Linked DNA regions of Homo sapiens: regions 1, 3 and 4 are each linked to region 2. The links are contacts of gene promoters, found by promoter capture Hi-C in blood cells and fetal thymus (Javierre and others, 2016). All regions are on one chromosome and are shown on one strand. The core of a region is centred on a gene start or on the middle of the fragment in contact, and the rest is flanking DNA. Distances in the headings are between cores, read along the strand shown.

Region 1 (2,700 bases), core at 44-2,543, 1.8 Mb after region 2:
AGAAAGCAAAGGAGAATGCAGGCAGCAGGGGAGGGCTGACTCTACGCCAGCCTTCTGAAATGACTTCAGCTGTACCTGGGCCTGCAGGTCACAATGATCATGCCTTTGAACTGGGGACACGGTTGAAAAGGCTGGAGGAGGAAGAAAGGGGCAAGGTGTCCACGCCATAGTCCCACTGTCTGCCTGACTGAAGGGCGGTTTACCACAGCTGGCTTTTTGTTCCCTAAAAAATGCAGCGGCCAGAGAGCAGGTGGGAGAGGCCCTCTCTGGGGAGTTGTTCCTCAGAACTGGGTCTGGGGGCAGGAGAGGGGGCCAGCTAATGGCCTGCAGAAGTGGCAAGGCCTGCTGCCTGCTTGCTTGACTCAGCGGTTTAGTTTATGGCAGAGTTTGCACAGACGGAATCGCTTGACCATGTTGTCAACAATCTGAGGCAGCCAAGCCAGCCAGGGAAGTTTTTTTGTTGGTCTCACCGGCTGTCTGGACCCTCCCACTGGAGGCGACCCTGCTCCCCACCTCACCGTGCAGCCTGGGTCCCTGGAGGCTCCCTGGGACATTCCTGCCACCTGCTGCCCTCCTCTCCCACCCAGCTCCTCTCCCTTTTCTTCTGGCCACTATTCTGATTTCAGTCCCCATTGCCTTGCTAGAACTGACACAGCCTCCTACAAACTGACTTCTGTGTCTTTTCTCTCCCATCTCCAGTCCACCTGCTACTAGATTCATTTTCCTGAAGAACAATTCTGCTGTGGCTCTTCTCTGCTCAATAACCTTCACTGGCTCCCCATCGCCCACCTAGCATATCTACTTCCTCAGCCTGGAATCTGATCCCCACCCCATCCCGCCAGCTTTGCTTCCCATCACACCTCTTCACATACCTGTGCAGTTTGCCTAACATGGACAACAACCCTCTTGTTCCCAAATATACTCTTGTGCTTTCCCACCCCTATGCCTTCTGTGGCTGTGTTCCCACTGCCAGAAGCCTCTGATTCCCCTTCTCTGTGTGTTGGAATGCTTTTGTGGAGTCCACACCAGGGCCATGTCTGCTCTTCATACGGGACATGCCTGACCTTCTCCTTCCTCTATTCCTCACAAATTGTAGCTCTCTGGTGGTATTTATCCCCTGTTTTGTTGTCGTTACTTGTGTCTGGATCTTAAGCTCCTTACCCTTTAGGACAGGGTCCGTGTCTAAGCTGTCCTCATATCTTGCTCATCTCCTGGTGACAACACACTGCACTTAGAGGAATCATCATTTTTGTGCTACTTTGTGCCAAGACCTCAAACATTATCCTATTTGTTCCTCCCAAGAAACTTCTGAAAGAAGTTTTAATACCTAACATTTGTTGAGCATTTACTGGAGCAGTACCAGGCTGTTCTAAATATTTTGCCTGAATTAGTTCATTTAATCCTTGTATTAACTCATTAACTCTTTGTAGTATATTTGATTATTATCCCTCATGCCAAAGATGAGGAAACTGAGGCCCAACGGGGTGAACTAGCCCCTACTGTCTGTGTTGAGTGACTGTCTGACCTGTGGGGGTTGCTAGCCATGCTTTATTGCTCCTGTTTGGCCTTCCTTCCTCTGATGGAAGGCAAGCCTTTGGCTAACACTCATACTTCCTTCCCCAGGCCCCACAGGGCACAACGTGATGATCACACGTTCTCAACAATAGTGATTTTTCATCCGTGACACATGCTTACAAATCCCTTAATGGCTTTTCTATTCTTGTTTTGTCGTTTTTTATCCCAGACTAATTTCTTCTTCCCCAGGCTGGCACTTATTTGGCATTGTGCTGCCTGGGGTTTTAATCAAGGCGGCCTACACCCACATTGTGAAACTCAACAGGCACTCACTTCTGGCACGGGCCCAGGGCTGGGTGCCAGGCCTCCTGCTGGGACTGGCCCCACAGCTTCTCCAAATATTTATTTCCCCAGGATAGTGGCAAAAGTACTCAGCAGCAGAACTATTTCTTCTGTGTCAAGGTTCCTTAGGATTATCTTTGGCAAAATGGCAACCAGTGCCGTCTCGTAGCCCTAATGCCAAGCACAGAGCTGGACGTGTATTTGGCCATCAGTAGATAATCCTTGAATGAATAACTTCATTCTCCTTTCCTTTTTAAAAGCTAGGGTTGCCTGACTGGGAAACCAGGAAAATTCTGAAAACAGATGTATCAGTTAGCTTTTGCTAGATAACAAATACAGACACTTCTCAACTTATGGTGAGGTTACTCCTGAGAAATCCATTGCAAGTTGAAAGTACTGTTAAGTCAAAAACGCATTTAATACCCTCAACCTACCAAACATTATAGCTTAGCCTGGCCCACCTGAAACATGCCCAGAACACTTACATTAGCCTACAGTTTGGCAAAATCATTTAGTACAAAGCCTATTTGGTAATAAAGTGTTGAATAACCCAAGTAATTTATTGATGTTCTACTGAATGTATATCACTTCCATACCATTGTAAAGTTGAAAAATCATAAGTTGAACTATCATAAGTCCAGCCATCATAACTGTAGGCACAAAACCTCAGTGGCATACAGCAATAAAAGTTCATTGCTGACATGACTGAGGTCAGCTGGGGATTGGCTCTGCTCATTATAAATTAGGCTTGCTTCTGTGGCTGGGGGTTGGCTGCTGTCATCTGATCTGGGCTGGCTTCTCCTGGGGTAACTGCAGTGACAGCACTGTCCACGTGCCTCTCAT
Region 2 (2,700 bases), core at 180-2,679:
CAAGGCAATTAATTGGTGGGAAAGAAGATGCCTAGCCCTCCTGATTTCACTGCACTTTCTGCATCTTCAACATGAGTACTGGGAAGTGGCAAAACATCCAGAGGCAGCTTGGGTGCTAGGTGGAGCATGAGTTAAAATTCCAGGATGAAGCAAATGAACACTTAGAATGACAGGAAAGATTTGGGAGTTGGGTTTGGGGGAGGGCTATTTACCTTTATTCCCTGGAGACCCTGGCACAAACCCTTGCCTCTGCAATCTTCCTCTCAGGTAAAGGAATTCATTAAATGAATTGCTAGAAGATCTACTGACCAGAGGGCTGTACAGAATCATATCTTTGAGAGTGGGAAGTAGGTTGATCACATAGTTTATTATCCAATCAGGACATATCTGAAAGAGAAAGGGGGTTCTATTAATATTTAAACTACAAAACATGTACACCAGGAATGTCTTGGGCAAATCTGGTTGCCCTAGCAAGAAAGGAAATTTGAAAGTTTATACTGTTCTGCTCCCATGTTACCCCGTTTGCACATGAGAGGGTAAGTATTCTCTTTCTTCACCTGCATTAAGGGAATAAAAGCACAAGCATTCAGGTGACTCCCAACCCACTTTTAATTTTACAGTTTCTGCTATACTCTATACATTCTGAAAATTACATTTCCCACCACTATCACTTCGTGATAGGTGATCATTTACAATTACTCACTGACTCAGTCCCGGGAAGAGGCGGTGCAAAATGGGACGCTCTATCCAGGTGCTCATTAGAAATGCAGAATCTCTGCCTGCCTCCTAGACCTACTGAATTAGAATCTGCATTTTTAAATAAGATTTCCAGGTGATCAATATGTACATTAAAACTTGAGAAAAACCTCTAGACTTCGACCTAAAGAAAAACATTTTACAACTTGACAGTGTATGCACATACATACATGCATATAGACACAACTGAAGCACAAATTTAATGAAGTAGAATTTACCGTTACTATTTTATTTGGGAAAGAAATGTGCTCGCGACTCAATAGATTGGAGTATTCACTCCTGGATCTCAACTTGCAATTTGAAAACGCATCTCTAAAGCACCTAGGAGCAATCTGAAGAAAGCTGAGGGGAGGCGGCAGATGTTCTGATCTACTAGGGAAAACGTGGACGTTTTCTGTTGTTACTTTGTGAACTGTGTGCACTTAGTCATTCTTGAGTAAATACTTGGAGCGAGGAACTCCTGAGTGGTGTGGGAGGGCGGTGAGGGGCAGCTGAAAGTCGGCCAAAGCTCTCGGAGGGGCTGGTCTAGGAAACATGATTGGCAGCTACGAGAGAGCTAGGGGCTGGACGTCGAGGAGAGGGAGAAGGCTCTCGGGCGGAGAGAGGTCCTGCCCAGCTGTTGGCGAGGAGTTTCCTGTTTCCCCCGCAGCGCTGAGTTGAAGTTGAGTGAGTCACTCGCGCGCACGGAGCGACGACACCCCCGCGCGTGCACCCGCTCGGGACAGGAGCCGGACTCCTGTGCAGCTTCCCTCGGCCGCCGGGGGCCTCCCCGCGCCTCGCCGGCCTCCAGGCCCCCTCCTGGCTGGCGAGCGGGCGCCACATCTGGCCCGCACATCTGCGCTGCCGGCCCGGCGCGGGGTCCGGAGAGGGCGCGGCGCGGAGGCGCAGCCAGGGGTCCGGGAAGGCGCCGTCCGCTGCGCTGGGGGCTCGGTCTATGACGAGCAGCGGGGTCTGCCATGGGTCGGGGGCTGCTCAGGGGCCTGTGGCCGCTGCACATCGTCCTGTGGACGCGTATCGCCAGCACGATCCCACCGCACGTTCAGAAGTCGGGTGAGTGGTCCCCAGCCCGGGCTCGGCGGGGCGCCGGGGGTCTTCCTGGGGTCCCCGCCTCTCCGCTGCGCTTGACAGTCGGGCCCGGCAACCCGGCCCCCGGGCGGAAACGAGGAAAGTTTCCCCCGCGACACTCACGCAGCCCGACTCCCGTAGCTGCAGGGATTGTGAGTTTTTCTTGAAAAAGAGAAGGAAAGTTCAGTTGCAAGGGGCGCGGGGCACGTTTGGTCCCCTTTGTGCGAGCAGGAAAGGCGTTGTGTTGGCCGCGTTCGAGGCGAGCCCCCACCCCCGGAAAGGGAAGTTTGAGAAGTTGGTTATCTGAAGGCGGCCGGGGAGCAGCGGCCCGGAGCGGCAGCCTGAGCTGCCAAAGCAGCCAGCGCACCTGGGCCACTCCGCCCATGGCGATGCCGCGTGCCCACCCAGCTCTTTCTGAGCCACCCGTTCAAAAGGCCAGCTCCTCAGTCCTTAGCTCCTGGAGACGGCCACGCTTTCCCTCAGGCCGGCTTCTTGGCCCGGAGTTTTTGGAAACAAGTTTCAAGAAAATAATCGATTTCCAAAAGAAAGTTAGCTGGCTCCACTGACGCCTTGGCATGGATGGATAGGGAGTGGAGATGCTCAGGTGAAACCGAGAATCCCTCACTGAATGCCTACTGGGTGCTAGAGGCTGTAGATTTTGCCTGGAACAAGATAGTCCTGTCTTCAGGGAGTTGATGGTTCTATGCAATTATCGTTTGTTGGAAACCGAAGGGTTAAAATCCTAACTAGGCTACCCACCTGATCGCTGTCTCTGAAGGTTTTTAAGGAAAAAATAAAAATAAAAAAATATATATATATATTATATATATATAAATATATATATAATTATATATATAAATATATATAATATTAATATAT
Region 3 (2,700 bases), core at 41-2,540, 1.8 Mb after region 2:
TTCCAGGGAGTGATGTTTCTTATCTGGAATTCTAATTCCAGTGATTCTGTGGTATCATGGCTGGTCTGTGGGACCCTTGCTTTGAGTTGAGGGCTCTTGCAGTGTTACTTTTAAACCCCTGGACATGGCTGGGCACCGTGGCTCACACCTGTAATCCCAGCACTTTGGGAGGCTGAGACGGGTGGATCACTTGAGGTCAGGAGTTCGAGACCAGCCTGACCAATATGGTGAAACCCTGTCTCTACTAAAAATATAAAAATTAGCCGGCCGTGGTGGTGCACACCTGTAGTCCCAGCTACTCAGGAAGCTGAGGCAGGAGAATCGCTTGAACCCAGAAGGCAGAGGTTGCAGTGAGTGGGGATAGCGCCACTGCACTCCAGCCTGGGTGACAGAGTGAGACTCTGTCTCAAAAGAAAAAAATAGGCCGGGCGCGGTGGCTCACGCCTGTACTCTCGACACTTTGGGAGGCCAAGGCATGCAGATCGCAAGGTCAGGAGATCGAGACTCTCCTGGCCAACATGGTGAAACCCTGTCTCTACTAAAAATACAAAAATTAGCTGGGCATGGTGGCGCATACATGTAATCCCAGCTACTTGTGAGGCTGAGGTAGGAGAATCCCTTGAACCAGGGAGGTGGAGGTTGCAGTGAGCTGAGATGTTGCCACTGCACTCCTGCCTAGCGACAGAGTGAGACTCCATCTCAAAAAAATAAAATAAATAAAATAAACCCCTGGACATTTATGTTAGATATTTTATTTTTATGACAGTTCAATATAAAAGAACAAACCGTTACGAGAGGAGCTAGAAGGCACCTTAAGAGGCAAGTGAACCCTTTGGACAGCATCACTTTGAAGTTACTCTACACAGAAACATCTGTCTTCCAGGAGCCTCCCAGCTGCTTCACTCCGTCCTGAAGTCAGAACCCCTACCTCCAGTCCTCTCTGAATTCAGGCGTGTTTGTGCATTTGCTTTTCTAACTGGGAACACGAAGACACCTGAGAGGGTTGGAGCTGGCGGGAGGAGGGCAGGGATAAACACCCCAGCGCCTTTTCCCCACTATTGTCTTGTTCTTTCTTCCACTTCACCTTTGCTTTCTTTTTTAACTTGTATATTAAGTTCAGGGGTACTTGTGTAGGTTTCTTATATGGTAAACTTGTGTCATGGGAGGGGGTTGTTGTACAGATTATTTTGTCACCCAGGAATTAAGCTTCTAAATAATTCAGGGGGCCCCAGCATTTGCAGAAGTTACCTACTGGCTTTAGAAGAATTTCTGAAAAGTTTGATGTCAGTCAAATCTTTTTTTTTTTTTTAACTTAATATGCTGGCTAAGATGCTGGCTATTTAAAGTTGGAATGAATGAATCCCTGGGCAAAAAGGAAGCTTTTAGGAGCACGCATAAGCACACACCATACTCTGGCTAAATTAGATTTTCTAAAATTGGGCTTTCCTAAAGAAAGTCATATGGTAGATGGCCATAGGCCCAGTGAACCGAATTCAGAAAGTGTTATTTCATGAGCAAGTTTCCCAGAAAGGTTCGAGATGTTTCTGATAGAGCAGGAATGTACTTCCTACTACACAGTACTCAGCCCTGGAGGCTCAGAGCAGGAAGACCTGACCTGCACAGGCCCCTTTTGTTGGCTGGGAAACTTCCACATCCCTGTGTCACCATGAAAAAGAGCTAACTTTGTCTTCAACGACGAGTTGGAAAATTATTTTAATCTCTGCATTAAACTAGATGCAAAATTGCCTCTCTACCTAGGAATCACGCTGCATAATCCCACATTATCTGCATTTTCAGTCATGCCTTGAATAATGATACTTGAGTTCTTGAGGAGGTCATTGTGGGGCTGGGAAGACCCCTAGACTTCCCCATGTAGATGTGGCCTGGAAGTAAGACTAACGTAGCAGCAAAGCCCTGGCGATCATGCACACTCCTGAGTAAGGCAGAGGTGTGAATCATTATATCACCATGGCTGGCTAGCTTCAGAGGAACCGAAAAAATGAAAACACTTGCGTTGCTCATTAGCAAAGGGAAATACACAAATGTTGAGGGACTCTTTGTGTCACAGCCACACTCTTCTGTTTCGATCTGGTAAGCAGAGCACTCTCCATACCTGCTTCAAGCTTCCAGCTGAGAGTTCTCTTTTAGCTGTTGTACCTATTGCTGAGGATCTTGATAGTGGGCTAGCAACAAGGGGCTTTAGAAAATAAGAGCATTTCAGCATCAACTGTTTTAACTGGAGTAAGATCCATTTTGTGATTTGATTTGATTTTTATTTTTTTAGAGACAGACTTTCACTCTGTCTTGCAGGCTGGAGTGCAGTGACGTGATAATAGCTCACTGCAACCTCAACCTCCTAGGCTCAATTGATCCTCCCACCTCAGCCTCCCAAGTTGCTGAGACCACAGGTGCATGCCACCACGCCCAGCTAGTTTTTGTATTTTTTGTAGAGACAGGGTCTTGCTTGTTGCCCAGGCTGGTCTCAAACTCCTGGCTTCAGGTGATCCACCCGCCTTGGCCTCCCAAAGTGCTGGGATTGCAGGCGTGAGCCTGGGATGCCAGGCATGCACCAGGCCCCATTTTGTGATTTAATTCTCATTGTAGACTGACATTTTCTATAGCAGAATTTTTCAACAGTAGTACTGTAGTTGAGGGGCCACATTTGGGGCTGGAGATGGGTAACTCTTTACTATGGGAGCT
Region 4 (2,700 bases), core at 34-2,533, 1.8 Mb after region 2:
ACATCTTGATTTCTCACCAGGTATTCAGAGGTCACCTACCTGGTTGGTTCCCTCTTAGAGTGTGACATCTTTAAAGTGGGCTATGAAGCCCTTTGCCTAAGACCTTGCTTTCCCAAGGGGCAGCTATTCACATCTAGCAGACAACACACTAGTGTAGACATCTCAGTGCACTTGGCAAGCCTCTGAAGCCTCTTCTTGTAAGTCAGGCCAGCAATGGCCCTTGCACTGGCAAGCATCTTGCTCAAGCTCTTAAGTGATCATAATAAAGTGATTAACACAGAGTGCCCAGCACAGTGATTACTTCTGATTAGAGGTGGGTGGTGCATTAGTCAACACCAGGCAGAAAAGCCCAGCAATGTTTCTGAGCAGACTCAGGAAGAGATAGTTGTTCTCAAACTTGAGTATGCATCAGAATCACAGAATGATGGTGAAGGGGGGTGGGGAGTGAGGGTGGGGTTGGGAAGACTTGTTAAGACACACACTGCTGAGCCCTACCCCTAGAGTTTCTGATTCAGCAGGTCAGAGTGGGCCCCTAGAATCTGCATTTCTCACAAGTTCGCAGGTACTGCTGGTTGGGGGGCTATACACTGAAAATCACTGTTAGAAGACTGCTGAATTGGACAAAGGCCCCTCAAAGGAGAAATGATCCAGCACTTGGTTTTTCTGCTTCCCTGAAACCCTCATCTCAACAAAGATGCCCTGTTATCTCCACTGTGGGTCCTGAAGCCTTAGACAAGTACAGAAGTGAAATGTACATCTACATAAAAAAATGATACACAGTACTAACTTCATGCCTGTGGGTATAGAGCCAGAAATGTCACAGCACACCTGCATATCTATCACATTGTCACAGCAGCCCCTAGATGCAATTATTCCTGAATTACAGAGAAACAAATGGAGGTACCAGGCAGCTGTGACTGTTGTCTACAGAGAAGACACACGTGGAAGGCAATTTTTCTTGGTCATGAAAATTGTCAAATGTACATAAAGGTGAAATAAATAGTGTAATAAATCCCCAAATGTTTCAACTGCAGTGGACTCTGGCAATGACAGTGGTTCTCAAATTTGAGTGTGCATCAGAATCACCTAAGAGACTTGCCAAAACAGATATTGCATGGGTATCATCCACCAACAAGAATTATTAGGACTTTGCCACATCGAAAACTCTTCTGATGACAAGACAGCACTGGCAGGGAATAAACTCACAAAGATAGTTTTATGTTTCACTTTGCTTTGTTTTGTTCTTGAGGCAGGGTCTTGCTCTGTCACCCAGCCTGGAGTACAGTGTTGTAATCATGACTCACTGCAGCTTCAACCTCCCGGGCTCAAGCAATCCTCCCACCTCAGCCTCCTGAGTAGCTGGGACTACAGGCATGTGCCACCATGCCCAGTTAATTTTTGTATTTTTTTGTAGAGATGGGGTTTCTCCATGTTGCCCTTGCTGGTGTCAAACTTGGGCTTGTGAGCTTGATTTTGGGATTACAGACATGAGCCACCGTGCCCAGCCAGATTTTTTGATGTTATCTCCAAATGAATAAATGTAAGTATGGCCACAGGGACACTGCTCAAAAGGAACATGATAACATACCTCGTTTTGGTAGTCCCGTTTGGGCCTGTCTTCATTTTTATGTTTTTTTCCTTTTCTTTTTCTTTTTCTTTTTTTAAGAGACAGTGTCTCACTCTGTCACCCAGACAAGAGTGCGGTGGCAAGATCATAGCTCACTGCAATCTCGGACTCCTGGCCTCCAGGGATCTTCATGCCTTGACTTCCCAAAGTGCTGGGATTATAGGTGTGAGCCACCACGCCTGGCCTCTTCATTTTTAAAACAACCCAAAAGGGATACAGAATAGAATGTCACTTGGATAGCTGTTTGACAGCTTTTTCTTTTTCTTGTCTTTTTTTTTTTTTTTAATTGAGACAAGGTCTTGCTCTGTGGCCCAGGCTGGAGTGCAATGCCACTGTCATGGCTCACTGCAGCCTCAACCTCCTGGGCTCCAAGGCTCCTCCAGACTCAGCCTCCTGAACAGGCATGTGCCACTGCACCCAGCTAATTTATTTATTTATTTATTTTTATTTTTATTTTTATTTTGAGACAGAGTCTCGCTCTGTCGCCCAGGCTCGAATGCAGTGGCGCAAGCTCTGCTCACTGCAAGCTCCGCCTCCCGGGTTCACGCCATTCTCAGCATCCCGAGTAGCTGTGACTGCAGGCGCCCGCCACCACGCCCAGCTAATTTTTTGTATTTTTAGTAGAGACGGGGTTTCACCGTGTTAGCCAGAATGGTCTCGATCTCCTGACCTCGTGATCCGCCCGCCTCGGCCTCCCAAAGTGCTGGAATTACAGGCGTGAGCCACCGCGCCCGGCCCAGCTAATTTATTTTTATTTTTTGTTTTTTGTAGAAATGAGGTCTGGCCATGTTCCCCAGGCTGACAGCTTCTAACAGAAGCAAACATATGCTCCCCTTGTAACCAGTGCGTTCACTTGCAGATATTTGTCCCAGAGAAATGAGAGTTTGTATCCACCAAAAAAACGTGTACCATAATAGTGACTATAGCCAGAAAAGAGATGAGGGAGGGGGGAAAGGCCGGAAGGAGGGAAGGAGGCAGGCAAGCAGGTAGGAAGGAAGCAAGCTTGGTGTCCATCAACTGGGTAAACGTTTAAAAAATACGGTATCTTTGCACAGTGGAGTACTACTCAGCAA

What was found. Contacts are between HindIII fragments. The CHiCAGO score rates a contact against its expected background, and 5 or more counts as called.
Region 1: a fragment that was not itself captured here is called in contact with the fragment with the promoter of TGFBR2 in region 2 in 1 of 17 cell types (non-activated CD4 T cells); the score reaches 7.7 in non-activated CD4 T cells.
Region 3: a fragment that was not itself captured here is called in contact with the fragment with the promoter of TGFBR2 in region 2 in 1 of 17 cell types (total CD8 T cells); the score reaches 8.6 in total CD8 T cells.
Region 4: a fragment that was not itself captured here is called in contact with the fragment with the promoter of TGFBR2 in region 2 in 1 of 17 cell types (non-activated CD4 T cells); the score reaches 6.0 in non-activated CD4 T cells.

Annotation. Positions count from the first base shown.
Region 1 is chr3:32,420,492-32,423,191 of GRCh38, forward strand. The region is part of intron 1 of CMTM7 (CKLF like MARVEL transmembrane domain containing 7); the gene reads left to right. Among named protein-coding and RNA genes, the nearest start is that of CMTM7, 30 kb to the left of the region's middle. RefSeq lists an enhancer at 1-348. The HindIII fragment of the contact is 3,926 bases long and covers 1-2,700 here.
Region 2 is chr3:30,605,172-30,607,871 of GRCh38, forward strand. It overlaps TGFBR2 (transforming growth factor beta receptor 2), which reads left to right and starts at 1,430. Exons shown (of 7, transcript NM_003242.6): 1 at 1,430-1,806. The coding sequence starts at 1,713. LOC105377015 (translation initiation factor IF-2-like) reads right to left here and starts at 1,753. Exons shown (of 2, transcript XM_047449400.1): 1 at 975-1,753; 2 at 1-387. The coding sequence starts at 1,753. The coding sequence ends at 1,313. RefSeq lists a silencer at 1,504-1,603. The HindIII fragment of the contact is 4,009 bases long and covers 1-2,700 here.
Region 3 is chr3:32,437,189-32,439,888 of GRCh38, forward strand. All of the region lies in intron 1 of CMTM7 (CKLF like MARVEL transmembrane domain containing 7), which reads left to right. Among named protein-coding and RNA genes, the nearest start is that of CMTM7, 47 kb to the left of the region's middle. RefSeq lists an enhancer at 1-108. The HindIII fragment of the contact is 173 bases long and covers 1,205-1,377 here.
Region 4 is chr3:32,388,484-32,391,183 of GRCh38, forward strand. No RefSeq gene overlaps it. Among named protein-coding and RNA genes, the nearest start is that of CMTM7, 2.0 kb to the right of the region's middle. The HindIII fragment of the contact is 2,687 bases long and covers 1-2,627 here.